Linked DNA regions of Homo sapiens: all the other regions are linked to region 4. Evidence: promoter capture Hi-C in 16 types of primary human blood cells and fetal thymus (Javierre and others, 2016). All regions are on one chromosome and are shown on one strand. The core of a region is centred on a gene start or on the middle of the fragment in contact, and the rest is flanking DNA. Distances in the headings are between cores, read along the strand shown. Region 1 overlaps PIGK (phosphatidylinositol glycan anchor biosynthesis class K). Region 2 overlaps TYW3 (tRNA-yW synthesizing protein 3 homolog). Region 3 overlaps TYW3 (tRNA-yW synthesizing protein 3 homolog). Region 4 holds the start of MSH4 (mutS homolog 4). Region 5 overlaps PIGK (phosphatidylinositol glycan anchor biosynthesis class K).

Region 1 (4,390 bases), core at 601-3,100, 1.3 Mb after region 4:
TTTGCATGTTTGAAAATGTCCTTATTTTTCATTCAGTCCTTAATGGTAGCTTAGCCAGCTTAAATTCTAAGCTAATAGTAATTTTCTCTCAGTACTTTATTGGTATTACTGTACTATCTTTTGGTTTCCGCTGTTGCTATTAAGATGTTTGCTGTCGGCCGGGCGCGGTGGCTCACGCCTGTAATCCCAGCACTTTGGGAGGCCGAGGCGGGCGGATCACGAGGTCAGGAGATCGAGACCATCCCGGCTAAAACGGTGAAACCCCGTCTCTACTAAAAATACAAAAAATTAGCCGGGCGTAGTGGCGGGCGCCTGTAGTCCCAGCTACTTGGGAGGCTGAGGCAGGAGAACGGCGTGAACCCGGGAGGCGGAGCTTGCAGTGAGCCGAGATCCCGCCACTGCACTCCAGCCTGGGCGACTGGGCGACAGAGCGAGACTCCGTCTCAAAAAAAAAAAAAAAAAAAAAAAAGATGTTTGCTGTCAACTTAGTTGTTACCCATTGTAGATGCCATTTTTCTCTTTGACTGATTTTTAAATCTCTTATGTACTTAGGGAGTTCTAAAATGTTCACATGAAGTATATACTCCCTGTATTGTGCTTTGGATTTGTTGAACTACCTTCAAAATGCAAAAGTATAAGCCATTATCTCTTATATTGCCTTTTGCTCATTCTATATTTTCTTCTCCCTGGAACTCTAATTAGACATAGCTAACAGTTTCCAATATTATCTTCATGTCTCATAACCTGTCCTAACACTTTCCATCTCTCTGTCTATATTTCATACTGAGTTATTTCTTTAGATCTATCTTATTTTACTAATTCTCCTTTCAGGTATGAGAAATCTTACAAAAATCATTAAAATCTTTTACTCTTTCCTGTATCTATTCATACCTTTTTGAGATACAACTTTGTAGCTCCTTCTAAGAAAAGATACAGTCTGCTTTTCCAGCCCTTGAATTTTACTTGGATTTGTGATTCCTTCTGCACAATAGGATGCAGCAAGAATAACAGGGCTCCAGTTTCAAATCTAGGCCACAAAACGTCTTGCATGCTTTTGGGACCCATGGATAACCTCCTGGAGGATAAAGGACCACATGGGAGCTGAATCAACATCAAAAGCCCCAGAAATGTGAGATAGTATAGCCAAAATCAGAAGTCACTCACTCAACCCAAAGATGACAAATTCTGAGAAAGCACAACATAAGCTAGAAGAACCATGAAGGTTGAGCCCATCCTACATTGTCAACCCTCAGAATCAAAAGCTAAATATGTGGTTGTTATTTAGACATTAAGTTTTGGAATGGTTTGTGATGCATCAATACCTCAATAATATGTCTATTATTTAATCTGTTTATTACATTTTTAATTTGAATAATTGTGGTTTACAAATATGAAAGTCTATTTGGCCTTTTCCAAATATGCCTCATCATTCTTTATCATGTAATCCTTGTGTAATCCTTCATTTCTTTCTTTTGTTTTTATTTTATCTTATTTTCCTCTTTTATTTGTATTTTATTTTATTTTGAGACAGAGTCTTACTCTTGTCACCCAGGCTGGAGTGCAATGGCACAATCTTGGTTTGGCTCACTGCAACCTCCGCCTCCTGGATTCCAGCAATCCTCCTGCCTCAGCCTCCCGAGTAGCTGGGATTACAGGTGCATACCACCACACCCGGCTAATTTTTGTATTTTTAGTAGAGACGGGGTTTCACCATGTTGGCCAGGCTGGTCGTGAACTACTAACCTCAAGTGATTTGTCCACCTCGGCCTCCCAAAGTGCTGGGACTACAGGAGTGAGCCACCACGCCTGGCCCCTTTTATTTCAAAAAATAATTTAAATGGTTATTTTGTATTTTGTAATTGATAAGTCATATATCTAATGTTCTTGTAGGTCTAATTCTCCTGATTATTCTGTATTGTGGTAAGCAAAATTCTAAGATGACCCTCAAGATTCTTATCCCTTGGTGTTCATATGCCCTGTATTGTCCACTTTCCTGGAGAATAGGCAGGACTGTGAATAAGATAAACTTCACTCCTATGATAAGGTTATGTTATATGACAAAAGTGAGGGAATTTTGCAAATATAATTAAGGTCTGAAATCAGTTCACACTTAGTTAATCAGAAGGAGACTGTCCTGAATGGGCTTGACCTAACCAGGCAAACCATTAAAAGGACCATGCCCTTCCTAAAGTTAGACAGATTGAAAATAGGAGAGACTCTACTGCAGGCTTTGAAGACACAAACAGCCATACTGTGAACTGCCTTTGGAGGGGCCATGAGGCAAGGACCTAAGACAGCTTATAGAAGCTATGGATAGTGTTTGGTTAATACTCATAAGAAAATGGGATTTCAGCCCTACATGTGCAAGGAACTGAATTTTGTCAACAATGAGTGAGCTTGGAAGAGGACGCCAAGCCTCAGATGAGACCACAGTATCAAGTGGTCTTTTTCAGCCTGTGAAACTTTAGGTAAAGGACCCAGCCAACCTGTACGCACACTTCCAACCTACAGATACTGTGAGATAATACATGGGTGTTGTCTTGCACTGCTGAGTTTGTGGTAGCTTGTTATACAGCAGTAGAAAACTAATACTCTCACGGGATTAGCTTGCTTTCTCAAATTGTCTGTAATTTAAGAACATGAACACCTTAATCCGTGAGGATCCTGAGGAACCTCAATTGAGAATGATTCCTAAATCGAATTTGAGTTTGCTTCTGTCTTGCTTTGGGTTACTATCAATCTAGTATCACTTCAACTGAATTGCTCAACTTTAAATTTCTTGGGCCAAGAAGGTTAACCATGTTAAATCACATGAGAGTATGACTGATTACATATTCCCAGGGAAGCCTCTTTTACCCCCATATCTCTAGCCAAGGCAAGAGAAACGTCCTCATTTTCTTCCCCTCAGGCTGTTAGATTTTATTCCAGCCCACTCTCTGATTGAGGGTAAAGCCTTAGAAGTTAATGGTTTTATGTAGAGGTCTTAAGCTCAACTGTCAACAAATGGATCCACAGTCTTTTCTCCTAACCCTCACACAAAGCCATTCTAACTCAAAACTCTAGGTTTCTATATTAGTACATGTTAGGCCGTCCTGCCTTCCACATTCATTCGGCACTTGAGTTTTAGCGTCTATGTGTTTTTTCCCAAGAGATTTCCCTACTGTTGAGCAAAGTGGAGCTTCCTCTGTTGCAAGCCACTGTTCAGCAATAGGCTCCTGCGAATACTTTCTGCTACTAGATAAAAAGACCAATAGCAGGATAAGTCACACAGTCCCCTGTAAAGGTTTCTTTAGATGAAGGTGCAGCTGGAAACACCATGGGTTGGATCAAGGAGGAAATTACAACCCTAAATCACATGAGAGCCCTAAAGCAAGAAAGGGCTCCCATAGACACTCCCGCTTTTTAAAGTAAATCTATACTGTCCTTGCAAAAGGAGACAGTCTGAGCTTGCTGCCAACTGCTCAGGGAAGCTGCATGTTTAGAACACCAGCTGTTACTATCTAGAAACACTGTAGGAAGTAGAACCCATGTAGTCCTTACCACTGAATGAGGGGGTGCCACCAGCTCTGCTTCAATGTGGAAGAAGCCAGCAATGCTATTCATCAAATGTTGTTTGTCTCTACACACTTACTTTCTTGGCAGCTCAGCTAAGCATTTAAAAAGATCTTTTTAAAATATAATTTATAGTGCATCTAGGTATCTTGTAACGGAATAATTTTCAGAAAAATCCTGTCAGCAACATTACAAAAGTGAAGTCAATTGATTATTCTTTATTATTAACTTCAAACCATCCCTCTAAACTCATTTACATTAATTTTTTGTTCCGAGAAAGTGAAATGTTGTATCTCATTCTAATATTACAGGGTGTTCTTTTATTGAGAAATGTTTCCTTCTAATGAAATGTGAAACTATGAATGCCAAAGGCTACTGAATTCAAGCTGTATTTTTATATCTGATATAGTTTAGATATTTGTCCCTGCTCAAATATCAGGTTGAACTGTAATCCCCAATGCTGGAGGTGGTGCCTGATGGAAGGTGTTTGGGTCATGAGGGCAGATCCCTCATGGCTTGGTGCTGTCTTCACCATAGTGAGTGAGTTCCCGCAAGATATGGTCGTTTAAAAGTGTGTGGCACCTCCCCAGTGCATGCTCACACTCACTCACTCTTTCTCTCTTGCACTCTCTCCCAAACCCTTGCCTTCCTCCCTCCCTCTCTCTCTTGCTCTCACTCTCTTACTCTCCCCCAACCCCCCTGCCCCGCTCACTTACACTTGCTCCGGTTCTCATTCCTATTCTCACCATATGATGTGCCTGTTCCCCATTTGCCCTCTACCATAATTGGAAGCTTCCTGACGCCTCCCCAAAAGTAGATACCCCTATGCTTCCTGTAC
Region 2 (4,123 bases), core at 5-2,504, 1.1 Mb before region 4:
AGCTCTGAAGAAAGCAAATGGTGATGCCACTTTGAAATTTGAACCATTTGTTCTTCATGTGCAGTGTCGACAATTGCAGGATGCACAGATTCTGGTAAAATTTTGTTGTAATTGTACTTGAATTTATAGATATGTGGGTAGATGTAATTTTAAGCTTTTAACCTGCTATAAATATCAATGAGATATTACCTTATTCAACTAGTTATGTATATATTATTTATTGGTCTGCTCAATCTATTAATTTTTAATATTAGAAAAAAAGAGTAGCTAATCATTGCTAGGAAAATATAAGTCCCAGGTTATGCTTCCTGTTTTCTTTCTTAACGTTTTTATTTATAAATTTTACTTCAGCATTCTATAGTTTGTTTTTGTTTGCCAAGCTTTAAGAAAAAATACTGTGGAACTACATGTAAAATTAAGAGTTTTAAAGAATATTTCATTTTTCCCATTTAAATGAGCATGCATGAGGTAAACATCTGTTTAGTCTTGATTCTCCTTTTTATACCTTTTATATATTTATATATAAAACTGAATTGCATTTTAAGCAACAATAATGTATTGAGTCTCAGTGTGTCAAGTACTAGGGGCACAGTGATGAACAAGATTAAAGACTGTCTTGGTTCCTCTTCCAAAGTTAGGAGACAGCAAAAACAAACAAGTGAACTGGCAAAAAAACAAAAAACAAACTGCAAGTTGCAAAATGTTCTACCGAAGGAAAAAACAACCTGGTAATAGAGAACAGTGCAAAAAGCAGCTCACTTGAAGATAGGCTTCTCTGAAAAGCTTTCTTTAAGCTAAGACTTAAAGGAACAGAAAGAGCTAGGCATGTAGCTGGGAAATGAACATTCCATGAAGATGGAAAAGTATATACAAAGTTTCAGTGGGTCTAGAGAGTGGAAAGAAGGTGCCAGAAGGAGGCTGGGGCCAGGTCATTTAAGGCTTTGTAGACCAGATTAAAGAGTTTGAATTTCTTTCTGAGTTCAGGGAAAAGTTATTGAAGGGACAGTTTTAAGCAAAGAGTGGCTTTCTAGGTTTTTGTTCTGAAAAACTCAGTTCTGCTTCAGCATAGAGAAAGGAGTGCAGTAAGTGAAAAGATACGAGTTAGGAGTAGTTTGTGGTGATAGGTTGGTGTAAGGTGATAGCACCAAAGCAGGTGAGAAAGGAATAGATTCAATATGTATTTCAGCATTTGAATCAACAGAATTGTAAGGTTGTCTGGGGAAGGACAGCCAGAGGGAGGAGGAGAAAGAGGAATCAAGGATAACTACTTAGGTCTGGCTGGAGCCCCTAGCTGTATGGTAGTCGCCTTTATCCAGATGGGGTGTGCTGAAGTTGAAGTGTGTCCAGAATTGGTTCCTTCCAGTGGGTTATTGGTCTCGCTGACTTCAAGAATGAAGCCGTGGACCCTCGCAGTGAGTGTGACAGTTCTTAAAGATGGTATGTCCGGAGTTTGTTCCTTCAGATGTTCAGATGTGTCCGGAGTTTCTTCCTTCCAGTGGGTTCGTGGTCTTGCTGACTTCAGGAGTGAAGCTGCAGACCTTCGCAGTGAGTGTTACAGCTCTTAAAGGTGGCATGTCCAGAGTTGTTTGTTCCTCCCAGTGGGTTCGTGGTCTTGCTGATTTCAGAAATGAAGCCGCAGACTTCCACAGTGAGTGTTAACAGCTCATAATGGTAATGCAGACCCAAAGACTGAGCAGCAGCAAGATTTATTAAGAGTGAAAGAATAAAGCTTCTGCAGCTTGGAAGGGGACTCAAGTGGGTTGCTGCTGCTGGCTCGGGTGGACAGTTTTTATTCCCTTATTTGGCCCCACCCACATCCTGCTGATTGGTCGCTTTTACAGACAGCTGATTGGTCCATTTTACAGAGTGCAGATTGGTGCATTTACAATCCTTTAGCTAGACATAGAGCGCTGATTGGTGCGTTTTTACAGAGTGCTGATTGGTGCGTTTACAATCCTTTAGCTAGACACAGAGCGCTGATTGGTGCATTTTTACAGAGTGCTGATTGGTGCGTTTACAATCCTTTAGCTAGACACAGAGCGCTGATTGGTGCATTTTTACAGAGTGCTGATTGGTGCATTTACAGTCCTTTAGCTACACACAGAGCGCTAATTGGTGCGTTTTTACAGAGTGCTGATTGGTGCATTTGCAGTCCTCTAGCTAGACAGAAAAGTTCTCCAAGTCCCCACTTGACCCAGAAAGTCCAGCTGGCTTCATCTCTCAATCCACCCTCTAAACAGGACACCTCAACTGCTGCTGGGAATTTGGCGATGACGGCTCTAGCTACTTCCTGCTGGATAGGGGTGAAGAAGGGGCCCTGCAGTTGTAGTGTCCTCCAGAGGGGAACTCTTTAGACCAGTGAAAGGGCCAGTGGGTCCGTCCAGGGGTCCTCGGTAGAAGTTGTTAGTTGAGCTCGTTTGGCTACAGTATATAGTCCTATCACAAAGAGTATGGTTAGTATGCTGCTAGAAAATATGATGAAATAGTAAAAGGATTCCATTAAAGGGGTAAAGAGAGGTGTTAAAGATTATGTAGGTTTTCACTTATATTTTTTAAGGAGGAATGGGTTTTTCCTCAGGATCAGAGGTAAGAGCCTTTTTAGTCTGGGATGTTTCCTTCCAAAATAGGAGATGCAAGTCCTCCAATGGTTCGCAGGTGTATCGAGGCTGGTCTGGCTGATCTTGGGACTCCTGAGCTGATGGTCCCGCAGGTTCCTCCGGGGGTGTCCAAAATTTAACTGGGGTGTGGTGAATCCAAGATTCCACTCCTGCCATCTTAACTGCAGTGGGGGTAGAGAGGATTACCGAGTATGGTCCTTCCCACAAAGAATCTATAGATGGGGAGGTAGAGGGGAGAGATTTGACTAACACTGGATCTCCTGGTTGAAACAACTCTGTTCCCTTTTCTCTGTGACATCCTTCAGGTAGGTTTTTAAGGTTTCGTTGATATTTTGCCAAAGAAGTTATATTTTTGACCAAGTTGGCCATTTCCTGATCAAGTAGGAGTTCATTTGTGAGAAAAGTTCTTCCATACAGCATTTCATAGGGACTGAGCCCCATTTTGTGAGGACAATTTTGGATTCTCAACAAGGCCATGGGCAAAAGAGTAGGCCATGGGAGATGAGTTTCTTGTGTTAGTTTTCTTAAGTGCCTCTTGAGTGTTTCATTTGCCTTCTCGACCTTCCCTCAGGATTGTGGCCTCCAGGCACAGTGAAGGTGATATTGTATCCCTAGCTCCCTGGAAATGTCCCTGAGTTATCATGGCTTTAAAAGCCAGATCATTGTTGCTCTGTAAGCTTTGGGGAAGCCCAAATCTAGGAATTATTTCATAAATTAGGACTTTAATCACTGCCTGAGCCTTCTCTGTCTTGCAGGGGAAAGCTTCTATCCAATTTGTAAAGGTATCAACACAGACCGACAAGTATTGAAATCCCTTTGACTTAGGCATATGGGTGAAGTCTAATTGCCAGTCCTCTCTGGGATAGTGACCTACTCTTTGTTCCCCAAAAGAGGCCTTAGGATGAACTAAGGGATTATTCCTTTGGCACACCCCTCACAGGCTTTGACTACCTGTCGGATGGCCTGGAGGAGATTTGGCCCTGTAAATAGGGATTTGGCCATTTGATGCGTGTTTTCAATACCCATGTGAACAGTTTCGTGGAGGGTTTTAAGTATTTTCCACTGGCTGGCTTTGGGTATAAGTACCTTTCCTTCTTCTGTCGTTAACCACGCCGAGGGGAGAAAACTATGCCCCCGTGAAAGTCCCCACTCTGTTTCGGTTGGGGAATACTGGAGCTTAACCTCTTGGAGGGGGTTGTTCCATACCAAGGGTCCTTCCGTAGGTATTTCTAATGGGATGTTCTGCCTGGCAGCAATTTTAGCCTCAGCATCTGCCCAACGGTTTCCTTCTGCCTTTTCTCCTTCACCTTTCCGATGGCTTTGGCAATGTAAGACTGCCACCTCCTTGGGTTTTTACACTGTGTGTAGTAACTCCATAATTTCCTTGTGGTATTTAACGGGAGTTCCCCCAGAGGTTAGGAACTCCCTTTCTTTCCATATTGCAGCATGGGCATGTAGGATTAGATAAGCATACTTACTATCTGTAACAAAGTCTCCCAATCACA
Region 3 (4,437 bases), core at 431-2,930, 1.0 Mb before region 4:
AGTTTTGGGATTATAAGCATGAGCCACTGCACATGGTCAAGTCTTACCATTTCTAAAAATGGGTCTAAAACAGCTAAATAAATAACACACATTTCCCTGTATAGTTGACCCTTGAACAACATGGAGTTAGGGTTACCACCCCCCTATGTAGTTGAAAATCCACATGGCTTTTGTTGTTGTTGTTTTTGAGACAGGATCTCACTGTCACCCAGGCTGGAGTACAGTGGCATGATCTTGGCTCACTGCAACCTTCGCCTTCCAGGCTCAAGTGATCCTCCACCTCAGCTTCCCGAGTAGCTGTTACTACAGGCATGTACCACCAAGCCCAGATAATTTTTTGTATTTTTTTGTAGAGATGGGGTTTTGCCATGTTGCCTAGGCTGGTCTCAAACTCCTGGACTCAAGTGATTGCCCGCCTTGGCCTCCCAAAGTGTTGGGATTACATGCATAAGCCACCGCACCTGGCTGACATATGACTTGACTCCCAAGAAACTTAGGTACTGATATCCTACCTTTGACTGGAAGCATTATTCATAACATAAGCAGTTGATTAGCACATGTATTGTATGTTATATATATTGTGTACTGTATTCTTACAATAAAGTAAGCTAGAGAAAAATGTTATTAAGAAAATCATAAGGAAGAGAAAATATATTTATTATTCATTAAGTGGAAATGGATCATCACAAAAGCCTTTGTCTTCATCGTCTTCACCTTGAGTAGGCTGAGGAAGAGGAGTGGTTGGTCCTGCTATCTCAGGGGTGGCAGAGGCAGAAGAGGTAGAGAAGGTAGAAGGAGAAGCAGGAATATTTGGTGTAGCTTTTATTCAAAAAAAATCTGCATGTAAGTGGACCTGTGTAGTTCAAAACCATATTGTTCAAGGGTCAACTGTATACTTAAGACCAAATAAGTAAATAATATAAAGCGAAAACATATATTTTATTTTCTAGTAGTGTTTCCTGGGACATCCCCCATGCCCCCATCTTTTTTCCTCCTAATTCCTCTCTTAGCACATTGTCAGCTTCCATTCATCCTTGCAGTTCAGCCCAGGCATTGGATCTTATAACGGAGAGCATTTTGTGATTTCAGTTAGAGCACTGTGTCCCATCTTTTTCATGGTGTGTTAAATGTGGCTTTACAGTTCTGTAGCTCCTGTTAAACCATGAGCTCCTTGAGGGCACAGACCACAGACCACTTCTCTGGGCTTCTAGTACTGGGCACTTGGCCTGTCACATACATGTTGTTTTTTAAAGAAAATGCTAGTTAAAATCTAAATACATATTAGAATAGCCTTCTTTGATATTTGTGAATGATGGAAGCCTAAAGGAAATAAAATTGTGCCTCAGTTTCCTCAATTCTGTGTTTTTGTTTGAGAAGTTAGAGAAATTCCAGCTTTCTGTTGAAAGTGGTTTTCTAACTGACGTTGAAAAACAAGAATTCATTTTCTCAGGCTTGGCCTGAAAACTTATGAAGAGAACTAAGTACAAGTTGTCCTATGCTATGATAATCTTGACTGCAGAGGCAGAAAAACTGAAGGCTATTTGCTTTTCTTTCAAGGAGAGAAAAAATACAGTTGCCTGAACATACTTTTTTTTTTTTTTCCTTAAATCTCAGAGCTCATTTTGTTGCCTGTGAGAGTTCAGAAAATTGCACTTTTGAAAATCAGGCTTAAGTGTTACTGTATAAGGGGAGAACATAACTTTTGACTTACTGAGTACTGTTTCTCAAAGGACTTTTAAAGTTCTCTTAGAAAAGGGAAAGGAAAACTAGTATTTGAAGTTTTTATTCAGGAAAGGATCTTTGTTCCATTTTACCAGTTGTTTTGGTACCCTAAGGACATAGCTTTGAATTCTTAGGTTCTTTAATGGTTGATTAAAGTAAGGCATACATTCCTTTTTAATTACTTTTTTTTAATGTGATGGATGAGGCATTTTTCACAAGCTGTTAATTCTCGGTGATCATAAAGGAGCAATTTAATCTTATCTTTCATTTTCTAGGAAGAAAGTATAATCCAGAAAAAAACACTCAGTTACCTAAGCCTAAAGTGCAGGGTTGATAAAGAATGGTAGAAGATGAGGTTGTATAACAGGGATGGCGTCTTATGATCAGGATGAGCCACACCATCTTGTGGCATGCTCAGATTTATGTTTTAGATAACGTTAATGTAAGTCATTCTGAACAGGCTGTGTGGAACATGAGAAGGATACCAGTCATTGACATCACCTAAGATGGTGACAAGACCTAGAAAGAAAGATCAAGTCAAGCATAGAAGTTTTCATCAATGTAAGGAACCAAACATTATTGGTAGATGACATGAGGGGCAGATGGAGGAATTTGGGAAAATGTTGATGAGCCGGTTTTATTCTGACCTCATCTCTCAGCTCTGTGGTAGCAGGATATGGAAAACATAAGCAGTCTCCGCTTGGGAGGAATGATGGAAGATGGTGTCTACAGGGGAGCCAGGTTTCAGTAACGGAAGGATGTAAAGGGTGCATTAAGTGAAAGGATGTTACCATGGAACAAGGCCCAAAAAGTTATGTATGTCACGCATCTCAGTCTTTTTAAATTTAACTCTGTGTCTGTTTTTGAGATTAATTCATTCATTGATAAAAATATTTATTGAGCATCTGTTGTTTGCCAAGCACAGCACTAGATATCAAGGTGTACAGTGATGAGTGCATAAGTTCTTGAAAATGGACAGGATGTGTACTCATCATGTTGTATATGTATTAGAGTTAGGTGACATATTTAGGAATATGTGGATATTTGGAGTTTTGGAGTTTTATAGGCTTCGTAAGTAGAACTTAGCCTGTTTATTGAATCAAACAAAGATGAAAATTGGTCCAAATAGAGATCTATTCTGTAGATATCAAAAATTTCTTGCCATAGTCTCCCATTATAATAGGACATAAAAGTAAGATGAGATCTCTGCAGTGGCAGGGGGGTTTCCTAACTTTCAGATCATTCTGATTTGAGACCTAGGATAACACATTTATAGTTACATTTTTATTCTGGGGTTATTCATTCATTTATTCAATATAGTCTTACTGAGTATGCCAGCACTCTACTACATGCTCAGAATATAACAGGAGACAGGTAGATAGGATCCTTGCTCTCATGAAGTCTATATTCCATAAAAGTAGTCATTTTTGATAACTAACTCTCTGGGTACTTACATATATCATCTGTAATCCTGTGACAACCCTGATAGCTACAGGATAATAATATCCAGCTTTATAAATGTGAAAAATCAAGACTGTGGGAAATTAATTGGAATTAGCTGACATCACCTTTCCTAAAAGAATGTTGGTGTCAAATGCATGCAACACACCATGCTATGCTGCCTGCTGCAGGCTACTGTGTCAAGCAGAGTTTTGTGTTAGGTGTTAACATGAGGGTAGAAAAGAAATGAGGCCTGGTTTTCAGAGAGCCTACAGTTTATTGTATCACAAAACTAACACTAAAACTCCAATAGAAAAATGAATAAAGGGAAACAATAATTTACACTAAAAAATTCAAATAGCTAATAAATGAGAAACATTGTATTTTACTTACAAAGAAATGAAAGTTAAAATAATGCGATATCATTTTCACCCATCCAGGTAGAATGTGTTTTTTGATGGGAATATTCAGTGTATAGGTGTAGTGATCTCTCTCAAGTGCAGCTATTAGAAGCGTATTTCTTTGAATATCTATTGTGAAAACAAGCAGTATTTATCAAGAGCCTTGTAATGTTTATGCCTTTTAACGATGTAATGATATTTCTAGGTGTCTATATAAAGAAATGGCTAAAAACTCACATCACATCATTTTCAAAAATGCTTACCACATTTTTGTTTGTATCAGGGAAAATTTGAATGTAAATAAAGGCCAATCTAGATGACATAATGTTGTACTGCCACTCTCAATAAATAATAACTTTGAAAAAACAATGTAAAACTTTATATGTAATATTCTAATTGTGACAAATAGGTATATGGATTAATTAATAAATACATTAATTCAGACTACATTAATAAACTGAAAAGAAAAATATTGAGAGGAGTTATTTCTAGTTATGTAGAGGTGATCTGTATTTGTAACCTCACACATTATACAAATTACCTAAAATGAGCCATTACATTTATGTAATAATAATTGCATTCTTTTTTACCCTCTTCTTTGACCCCTACATTTGGGTTGGAAAGTGAGGTAGGACAGAGGTTGTCAAGAGGTGATTCCAATCCAGTTTTCAGGGCTGTTCTTAAAGAACTGAAATGCATTTATTTCCCTAATAAAACATATTATTTATTTGATTTATATTTATAAAGCTAATATGGGACATAGTCAAATTTACATAACTTATAAGCTCTTGGTGTATTTCAGTCATTTCGTTTCAGTACACACAGATATAATAGTAGTACTTATTTCTTCACAGGTTTTACAACTGCCTACAGC
Region 4 (3,899 bases), core at 1-2,500:
GCCTAAAATGAGTACAATCACTCTAGGGGTTTACAGTTTTGGTGAAAGTGAGGTATTCTCTATTTTTAAATTTTATTTTTTAGAGACAGGGTCTTCCTTTCTTCCCCAGGCTGGGGCATAGTAGTGCAATCACAGCTCACTGTAACCTTAAACTCCTGGGCTCAAGCAGTCCTTCCACCTCAGCCTCCTGAGTACCAGGGTCTACAGGTACCTGCCACCATGCCCACTATGCCCAGCTGATTTCTTAATTTTGGGGACAGGCACTGTCTTCCCCAGGCTGGTCTCCGGAGGTGAAGTAATCCTCTGGCCTCAGTCTCCCAAAGTACTGGGATTACAGGGAGGAGCCATCGTGCCCGATCTGAAAATAAGGTTTTTTGATGGAAATTGAGATTTTTCTCAAGTATGTTTGGAATGCCCTGTGCAATAATCATTCCAAGAACAGAGATGTTCTTAAGGACTGTTGTCACTGCATGTGGGTAAACCGCTGTGCATAACTGGTTTATTGAGATACTCAACAGTGGCAGGATTTCAGTAGTGGTGTAAATTAATGTCTTCTAATAGCTTCTGTATGGCAGTATCCAGATAATTTCGTCATGTTTAATCCATGGATCTCTGGTAAGTTGGTACTATTGGCCTTATTTAAGGAATTTTCTAAAGGTCACCACTGCAAAGCTGGAGTTTGAACTTCTAGTGTGCCATTAACTGATTTATATGTTAGAAACCACAGTACTAGAAATTGGTAGATGGGGAATTGTTAACTGAGAGATCTTACCCAGTCAGTCTTTCCCTGTTTCCTACTCTACTATGCACACAGCCATGTGCATACTATCTTTTGATAATATAACTATCTTTCCTATATTTGGTCACAAGATCAACCTTAGGTGGGTTATGCTGTGTGAGCATTACACGTTCTCATTGTGTCAAAGGCACTGGGTGTACTGTGTTGGGTGGTTTCTACATTTAAAGATAAGCTAGTGTGCTTGGACGTGTGGGAAATGCATGTAACATTTGCAATAAGGGAGATTGGGTGCTGTGAGAATAATGGGGCTAACAAATCGGGTGGTCATTGATGGGCCTTGCAGAGTTCTGGTCAGTCTGATACCTGCAGGCTGAGGATGTTCCAGTGAGGTTCATGTGGAAAGTGATGGGTTTGGGAATGGCTGGAAGCAGGGTCATAGACCTGAAGTACGTGAATCCATGTGGAAAGCTGAGCCTGCCTGCGCCTGCGCAGTGCAGCTTAGTGCGTCGGCGCGCAGTTCTCCCGCCCGTTTCAGCGGCGCAGCTTCTGTAGTTGGGCTACTGGAGGGGTCGCTCAGAAACCTCATACTTCTCGGGTCAGGGAAGGTTTGGGAGGATGCTGAGGCCTGAGATCTCATCAACCTCGCCTTCTGCCCCGGCGGTTTCCCCGTCGTCGGGAGAAACCCGCTCACCTCAGGGTCCCCGCTACAATTTCGGACTCCAGGAGACTCCACAGAGCCGCCCTTCGGTCCAGGTGGTCTCTGCATCCACCTGTCCTGGCACGTCAGGAGCTGCGGGCGACCGGAGCAGCAGCAGCAGCAGCCTTCCCTGCCCCGCGCCAAACTCCCGGCCAGCTCAAGGCAAGGAGTGATTGGGTGGAGGAGTCTCCTTGAGGCTAGAGGCCGGCAGTTCATGGAGGCTCGGGGGCACGTGGGTGGTGGTTACCACAGTGAAGTTGTGATTTGGTTGGGGCGTGAGATCTGAGTGCCCTGGGAATTTGGTGAGTCTGGGTGATTAGAAGCCTTGACTTTTCAAATTGGTTCTATTGCAAGACCTTGACTGTGGATGGCTCAGTTCTGAGAAAGGCTGAAGTATCCCATATAACGTCCCTCACAGTGTCTGACAAATGACAGTTTGTGCGTGAGTTTGCTGATAGAAGTTGTGAGCTGATCTTTGGCTGCTGAATTTAATTCTCCAAATCCTGCTAAGGTGGGATAAAATAGATTAAATTGAACATTTCATCTAATTCAGGGAAAATAATATGTTTAGTATTAAAAGAGTGGGCTGGGCGGTGGCTGACGCCTGTAATCCCAGCACTTTGGGAAACCAGGGTGGGCGGATCACTTGAGGCCGGGAGTTCCACACCAGCCTGGCCAACATGGTGAACCTCCCACCCCCATCCCCTATCTCTACTAAAAGTACAAAAATTATCTGGGTGTGGTGGCACGTGACTGTGGTCCCAGCTACTCAGGAGGTTGAGGTGGGAGGATGGCGAGTCCGGGAGGTCGAGGCTGCCGTGAGCTGAGATTGCGCCACTGCATTTCAGCCTGGGTGACACAGTGAGACCCTGACTCAAAACAAACAAACAAAAAAGATGCATGTCCTTCAAATCATTTATTATTTTGTTAGTCTCTATTCATGACAAAGCATCACCATTTTTCACACACGATTGCAACACAATGGTAAAGTAACAAATACCAAATCCAATGGTCATTTTTCAGTTCATCTCATGTGACCTTTCTGCTGTATTTAATGTTCTTAATTTCTTTATTTTTAGAAACAGAGTCTCGCTATGCTGCCCATGCTGGTCTCAAACTCCTGGTCTCAAGTGCTCCTGCCTCGGTCTGCCCAAGCATTGGGATTACAGGCATGAGCCACTGCTGCCTGGCCTATGTTTAATGTTCTTGACTGGTCTTCTCTTAAACTCTTTTAATTTGGCTTCCTTGATTCCACTTGCCCCTGTTTTTCTGCTACCTCCCAGAGAATTGCTGTGCCCACCTTTGTTCCCAAATTATGGGCATGTCATTAAAGCTTTTTTTCCTAGGCCACTTCTACCTAGATGTGACTATCTCCACAGCTCAGATCTCATCTACACTCCAGACTTACTTCAGACTGTCTTCTGAAGTTTTTATTGATGGACTAATGGATACCTCAGGCTGACTATATGATTAATTAAATTCCTCTCTGCACTTTTTTTTTTTTTTTGAGACAGAGTCTTGCTCTGTTGCCCAGGCTGGAGTGCAGTGGCATGGTCATGACTCACTGCAGCCTCAAATTCCTGGGCTCAAGCGATCCTCCCACCTCAGCCTCCCGAGTAGCTGGGACCAAGGCATGTGCCCCTACAGATGGCTAATTTAAAAAATTTTTTTGTAGAGACAGTGTTTTCCTACGTTGCCCAGCCTGGTCTCGAACTTCTAGGCTCAAGCGATCCTCCTACCTCAGCCTCCCAAAATGCTGGGATTACAGGTGTGAGCCACTGCACCTAGCCCTCAAACTCTTAAGTGTTCTTCCATCCTTGTAGCTTACTTACTGTACCACCAGAGTTATGTGGAAAATGATCTTATCATGTCCCTTGCCACTTAAATCAGTAGACCTGTATCTGCAGGTAAAAGATCAAACTCTCTAGAAGGATAGCCAAAGCAATTGGGATCGGTTTCTAATCTTTACAGATTTATCCCTCATCATTTAATATTTACCCTGCTTTCTAACAAAACTGAGCTACTTGCAATTCCTTTAAAGCAACATGAATGTTCACATTGTCAGTCTAATCCCTCTCTTCATCAGATGCTTGGTCACCCACTTATTTATCAGTAATGATAACATTCACTAATTTATATGCACCTACTTTGTTCTGGCTTCTTACTAGGCAGACGGTATCTTTGATCCTCACAATAATTTTGCAGAGTAGATTTTTTTTTTGTTCCTGTTTTACAGATAGAACCAAGGCCCAAATAGGCGAACAAAGGTTCAAATTATGTTAGCAGCTGGGGATAATAATCTGTGCTCTCAATGAACTTAAGGTTCAGTAGAGAAGACAGACTTAAAAATCAACAAATACACATTTAAGAAATAACTGTATTTGAGGTATTTATAATTTTTGAGGTAGGTATAATTAAAGTATGGGGACAAAAGTGGGAAAAGACATTTCACAGAGTAAGTGC
Region 5 (3,973 bases), core at 243-2,742, 1.4 Mb after region 4:
AAATTAGCTACATAGGGTTATACAATATTTGTTTCATTCCACATTGCTTCCTTTATTGTGAGAAACGTAGGACACAGGATAAAACATAACATATAAAACAGTTGTAAATGTACATAAGAGAGTGCATTATAAAGAAGCTATTGAACTCAAGAGAAAATTAGAAACAATCCAACCAAGTTTTATAGTTTAAAAAAATTCCTGAGAATTATATTAAAGGTGCTAGGAAAATCTAATTCCATGCCTCAAAAGTTAGTGTTGTTCAGAACCCATTCTAAGGTAGGTAAATATAGATTGGGGTCACTTGGTAATATATCTACCAAGTACAATCCCGGCTTCTATCACATGCCTGTGCCTTTAGTAGGTATAATGACAATTTTGAGAACAGCATAAGTGTTCTTGCCCCTGACAAACAGAAAGGAACTACATGGTTTTTTTTTAAATTAAGTTTTCAACCTAGAATCCAATCAGGAAAAGACTAAATTTTTGACTATATAAAAATGTAAAATTCCATATATCAAAAATATCATAAAATTCTAGCTGGACACAGTAGCTTACACCTATAATCCTAGCAGTTTGGGAGGCCAAGATGGAAGGATCACTTGAGGTTAGGAGTTAAAGAACGGCCTAGGCAACACAATGAGACCCCCATCTCTACAAAAAAAAATGTAAAATTTAGCAAGGAGTGGTAGTTTGTGGTTGTAGTTCTAGCTACTTGGGAAGCTGACGTGGGAGGATCACTTGAGCCCAGGAGTTCAGGGCTACAGTGAGCTATGATCACACCACTGCACTCCAGCCTGGGAGACAGTGCAAGACCTCATCTCCAAAAACTCCCTTTTTAATTTTAAAAAATAAAATATAATTTATTAAAGTTTCACTATACTAATATGTAAAATATTGGACAAAAAAAAGAAAACTGTAGTTGTAATACAATGCTCAGTAATGTTTCTTTTTCATCTTTTATTTTTTACCAGGTTACTGAAATTGAAGAGAGGTTTGGTTAGAGGTTTCCCAGAGCAAGGAAGGCTTTCATATGTGTGTCAGTATAAGCTAACAGTATTTTAGTTCCAAAAGATAAGCCCTTTGCAATTGGTGGTCTGCACATAGGCAGTTATTGCCTCTTGAACATGGAGGGGCTCCTAGTTTCCTGTAGAAAAAGTTTATCCTGTCAAATTGGTAGATGATGGCCTGGCTCCCAATAGTTCTCCTTACTTTTAAGTAGGCATTGAAATCCTCTCTCCTTATCTTTAGCAGTCTTTTCTCAGTAACTTCAGAAAAATTTCTTGTGAAGGGTAGCATATATAAGAGGTTTTTTTCTTGAAGAACAAGAAAATGAGCCATGGACCCATGTTACACTGTCCTATTTAATCACAATGCTATTACATTTAAAACAAACAAGTATAGAACTTGGAATCACCCTATTTACTTATAGGAACCTATAGATAATTCATTATCTATATTTTTATCAAATGTGTTTGTCAAATGATTCTCAATAAATTTACAAAGCCTCAAACTTCATTTGGCGTCAGTAAGTTAATTATAGTCTTGCATGTTTATTCTGCACTTTAAGCTGAATTCCTCTATCCATCTCCTTTACATTCCCACTATATTCTTACCATTTATAATCCCCAGTTTTCTTCCTTTTCCAACATGCATTACTGGCTTTGAGATGCTGTACATTCTCTGCTCCCTTTTTCACAAAATCAGCTTCCTTTCCTGCCTCTTTGAACCTATTCTCTATTTCCCCATTGTTTCTTCCAGTCCAATCCTTGTACATGTTTTTTCATTAAGTCAACATTATATTTTCTAATCATATAAATGCCATTAAATGAAACTCCAGTAATGAAACTATTATCCAAATATTTTCCAAGCATAGGAAAAACAAATTTGATTATGTGAATTCTGTTTGAGGAATTAAAACTACAAATTTCTGAATCCAGAAAAATTAAAGATGGTAATTCACACTAAGGTTGGGCAAAAGGCAGAAGAAAAAAAAAGGGCCAATAAGCAGGCCTTACTAAAAATCAAAACAATGCAAATTAAAACAAAATGTAATGTGTTGACCAGCAGTCAAAAAGTTAAGATAAAAATTAAGAATACATAGCTGACTTGAATTTAGAAAAAGACCCACAGTCTTTCTGGAGGCAATCATGCTCCATGACTTCACATTCTTACACTTAGGAATTTATCCTAAAGAGAAAATCAGTCAGGTCACAGAGTTATGTGTATAAGAATGTTCAACACAGCCCTGTTTACAATAACAAAAAATTTAGATTCTAAATGCCCATAAACTGGAGGTTACAGTACATTCACAAAACAGAAGAAAATACAGCTTTTGGAAAAGATTATATGTCTCCATACCTACTGGCAGGGAAAGATCCCTAAGATAATACTAAAGGGTTGCAAAATAGCAGGTATAATATGATCCCAATTATATAAAATCATATATCTATATATCTTTATGCTTATATATGAAGAGGGAAAGGGCTTGAACAATGCTCACCAAAATATTAACTCTGGGATGTGGGACTTGAAGCCATTTTCCCTGTCTTCTTTAATTGAGGTGAAATTCACAAAACAAAATTAGTCTGCCTTCTTTAAACTTTTCTGTATAACTTGAACTTCTACAGTGGTCATTTATTATTTTTATAAGCAGAAAAAACAACTGAAAAAATTTTAAAAAGTGTAAGTAGAAAGTATCTATCAACTAATACTATAAATAACAGATGCAATTAGTAGTTTCCAGCATTAAAATATTTCTACCTCTTATAAAATGTTTCCTTTAACAATAGCATTCCTAATTTATTCTTACATTTATTTTCAGATCACCACTTGACAGATATTCTGAGGACAAAGAATATTACTAGATTATTATAGTTGATGTGGTCAATTTAAAATATAGCCAAATCAAAATAAAGAATTTCTGATATAAAATGTAAAAAAATAAATTGTATTTTCAAAAATTTGATTCACACAAATTTCTCAGATACATATCTAATGTGAACAGCAAGGTATACTTTTACAGTATACTTACCAGAACAGCCCAGTTGTTTGTATGGCCACTTCTAAAGAATTGTTCTGCTTGATCCTAAATAAAGCAAAACAAATAGAAGAAAAAGGCACAATTTCTCAGAATAAAGACTGATAATGGACAGTTGAGACTCGTGTAGTTTTTACAGTTGTAATAACAATCATCTTACGTAAGTTTATGAAGATTCCAGTATTTGTCATTATGGACTACACAAAGAATCAAAAGAGCTTATTGCTTAAGACACTATAAGGACAAAAGTCCTGAACTGGAAATCTGGAGAACTGGGTTTCATTCTTGGCTTAGACACCAATTAAACAGAGTAACCTTGATTAAGATACTTAACCTCCCTGGAGACTCAGTTTCCTCATGTGCAAAATGAAAGCAATGCCAATCCTACATCACAGGGCTCTTTTAGAGAACTATAAGGTATATGTGCAAGAGCTTCTGCTTTAAAATATTATTTAGCATTACTCAAATGAAAGCATACTTACTATATAACTCATATCTTTCTATTTCCCGTACCCTGAGAATTATTAAGAAAGTAGAATGTATGTTCAATTAAGAACGTACAATCTGCTTGTTCAACATTTAACAAGGCTATTATTTAAAACTGCAACCTCGCCCCACCATTTTTCTTACTATAATTTATTTTTTCTACTGTGTTTATCATCTTCTTACATTATATATATAATTAACTTATTTATTATGTGTATTAATCGTCTGTCTTTCCCAAAACAATGTAAGCTTCAGTAAGGCAGGGGCTTTCATCAGTTATATTCAATGATGTATTCCAAGTAAGTTTGGCATATAGTGGGTTTTTAATAAATATTTTTTGAATTAATGAATCCATGGTCCAAATGCCTTTACTCTCGGTGAACAAATCAAGAGTCATCTATGGAAAACTGAAACCGCATGGTTGATAGGTTCAGAATATGGTAAGAAGGT

Evidence for each region. The method cuts DNA at HindIII sites, captures the fragments that hold promoters and counts their contacts. A CHiCAGO score of 5 or more calls a contact.
Region 1: a fragment that was not itself captured here is called in contact with the fragment with the promoter of MSH4 in region 4 in 7 of 17 cell types (fetal thymus, total CD4 T cells, M0 macrophages and 4 more); the score reaches 8.6 in fetal thymus.
Region 2: a contact is called between a fragment that was not itself captured here and the fragment with the promoter of MSH4 in region 4, in 1 of 17 cell types (M1 macrophages). The highest score is 6.0, in M1 macrophages.
Region 3: a fragment that was not itself captured here is called in contact with the fragment with the promoter of MSH4 in region 4 in 1 of 17 cell types (M2 macrophages); the score reaches 5.9 in M2 macrophages.
Region 5: a fragment that was not itself captured here is called in contact with the fragment with the promoter of MSH4 in region 4 in 3 of 17 cell types (total CD4 T cells, naive CD8 T cells and activated CD4 T cells); the score reaches 6.1 in total CD4 T cells.

The regions. Positions count from the first base shown.
Region 1 is chr1:77,136,092-77,140,481 of GRCh38, forward strand. The region is part of intron 9 of PIGK (phosphatidylinositol glycan anchor biosynthesis class K); the gene reads right to left. Among named protein-coding and RNA genes, the nearest start is that of MIR7156, 78 kb to the left of the region's middle. The HindIII fragment of the contact is 4,984 bases long and covers 1-4,342 here.
Region 2 is chr1:74,738,695-74,742,817 of GRCh38, forward strand. It overlaps TYW3 (tRNA-yW synthesizing protein 3 homolog), which reads left to right. Exons shown (of 6, transcript NM_138467.3): 3 at 1-94. Among named protein-coding and RNA genes, the nearest start is that of TYW3, 7.6 kb to the left of the region's middle. The HindIII fragment of the contact is 946 bases long and covers 782-1,727 here.
Region 3 is chr1:74,759,477-74,763,913 of GRCh38, forward strand. TYW3 (tRNA-yW synthesizing protein 3 homolog) reads left to right here. Exons shown (of 6, transcript NM_138467.3): 6 at 4,418-4,437. Among named protein-coding and RNA genes, the nearest start is that of TYW3, 29 kb to the left of the region's middle. The HindIII fragment of the contact is 5,911 bases long and covers 1-4,437 here.
Region 4 is chr1:75,795,632-75,799,530 of GRCh38, forward strand. It overlaps MSH4 (mutS homolog 4), which reads left to right and starts at 1,251. Exons shown (of 20, transcript NM_002440.4): 1 at 1,251-1,598. The coding sequence starts at 1,355. The HindIII fragment of the contact is 6,934 bases long and covers 1-2,767 here.
Region 5 is chr1:77,207,405-77,211,377 of GRCh38, forward strand. It overlaps PIGK (phosphatidylinositol glycan anchor biosynthesis class K), which reads right to left. Exons shown (of 11, transcript NM_005482.3): 2 at 3,032-3,085. Among named protein-coding and RNA genes, the nearest start is that of PIGK, 10 kb to the right of the region's middle. The HindIII fragment of the contact is 4,556 bases long and covers 1-3,770 here.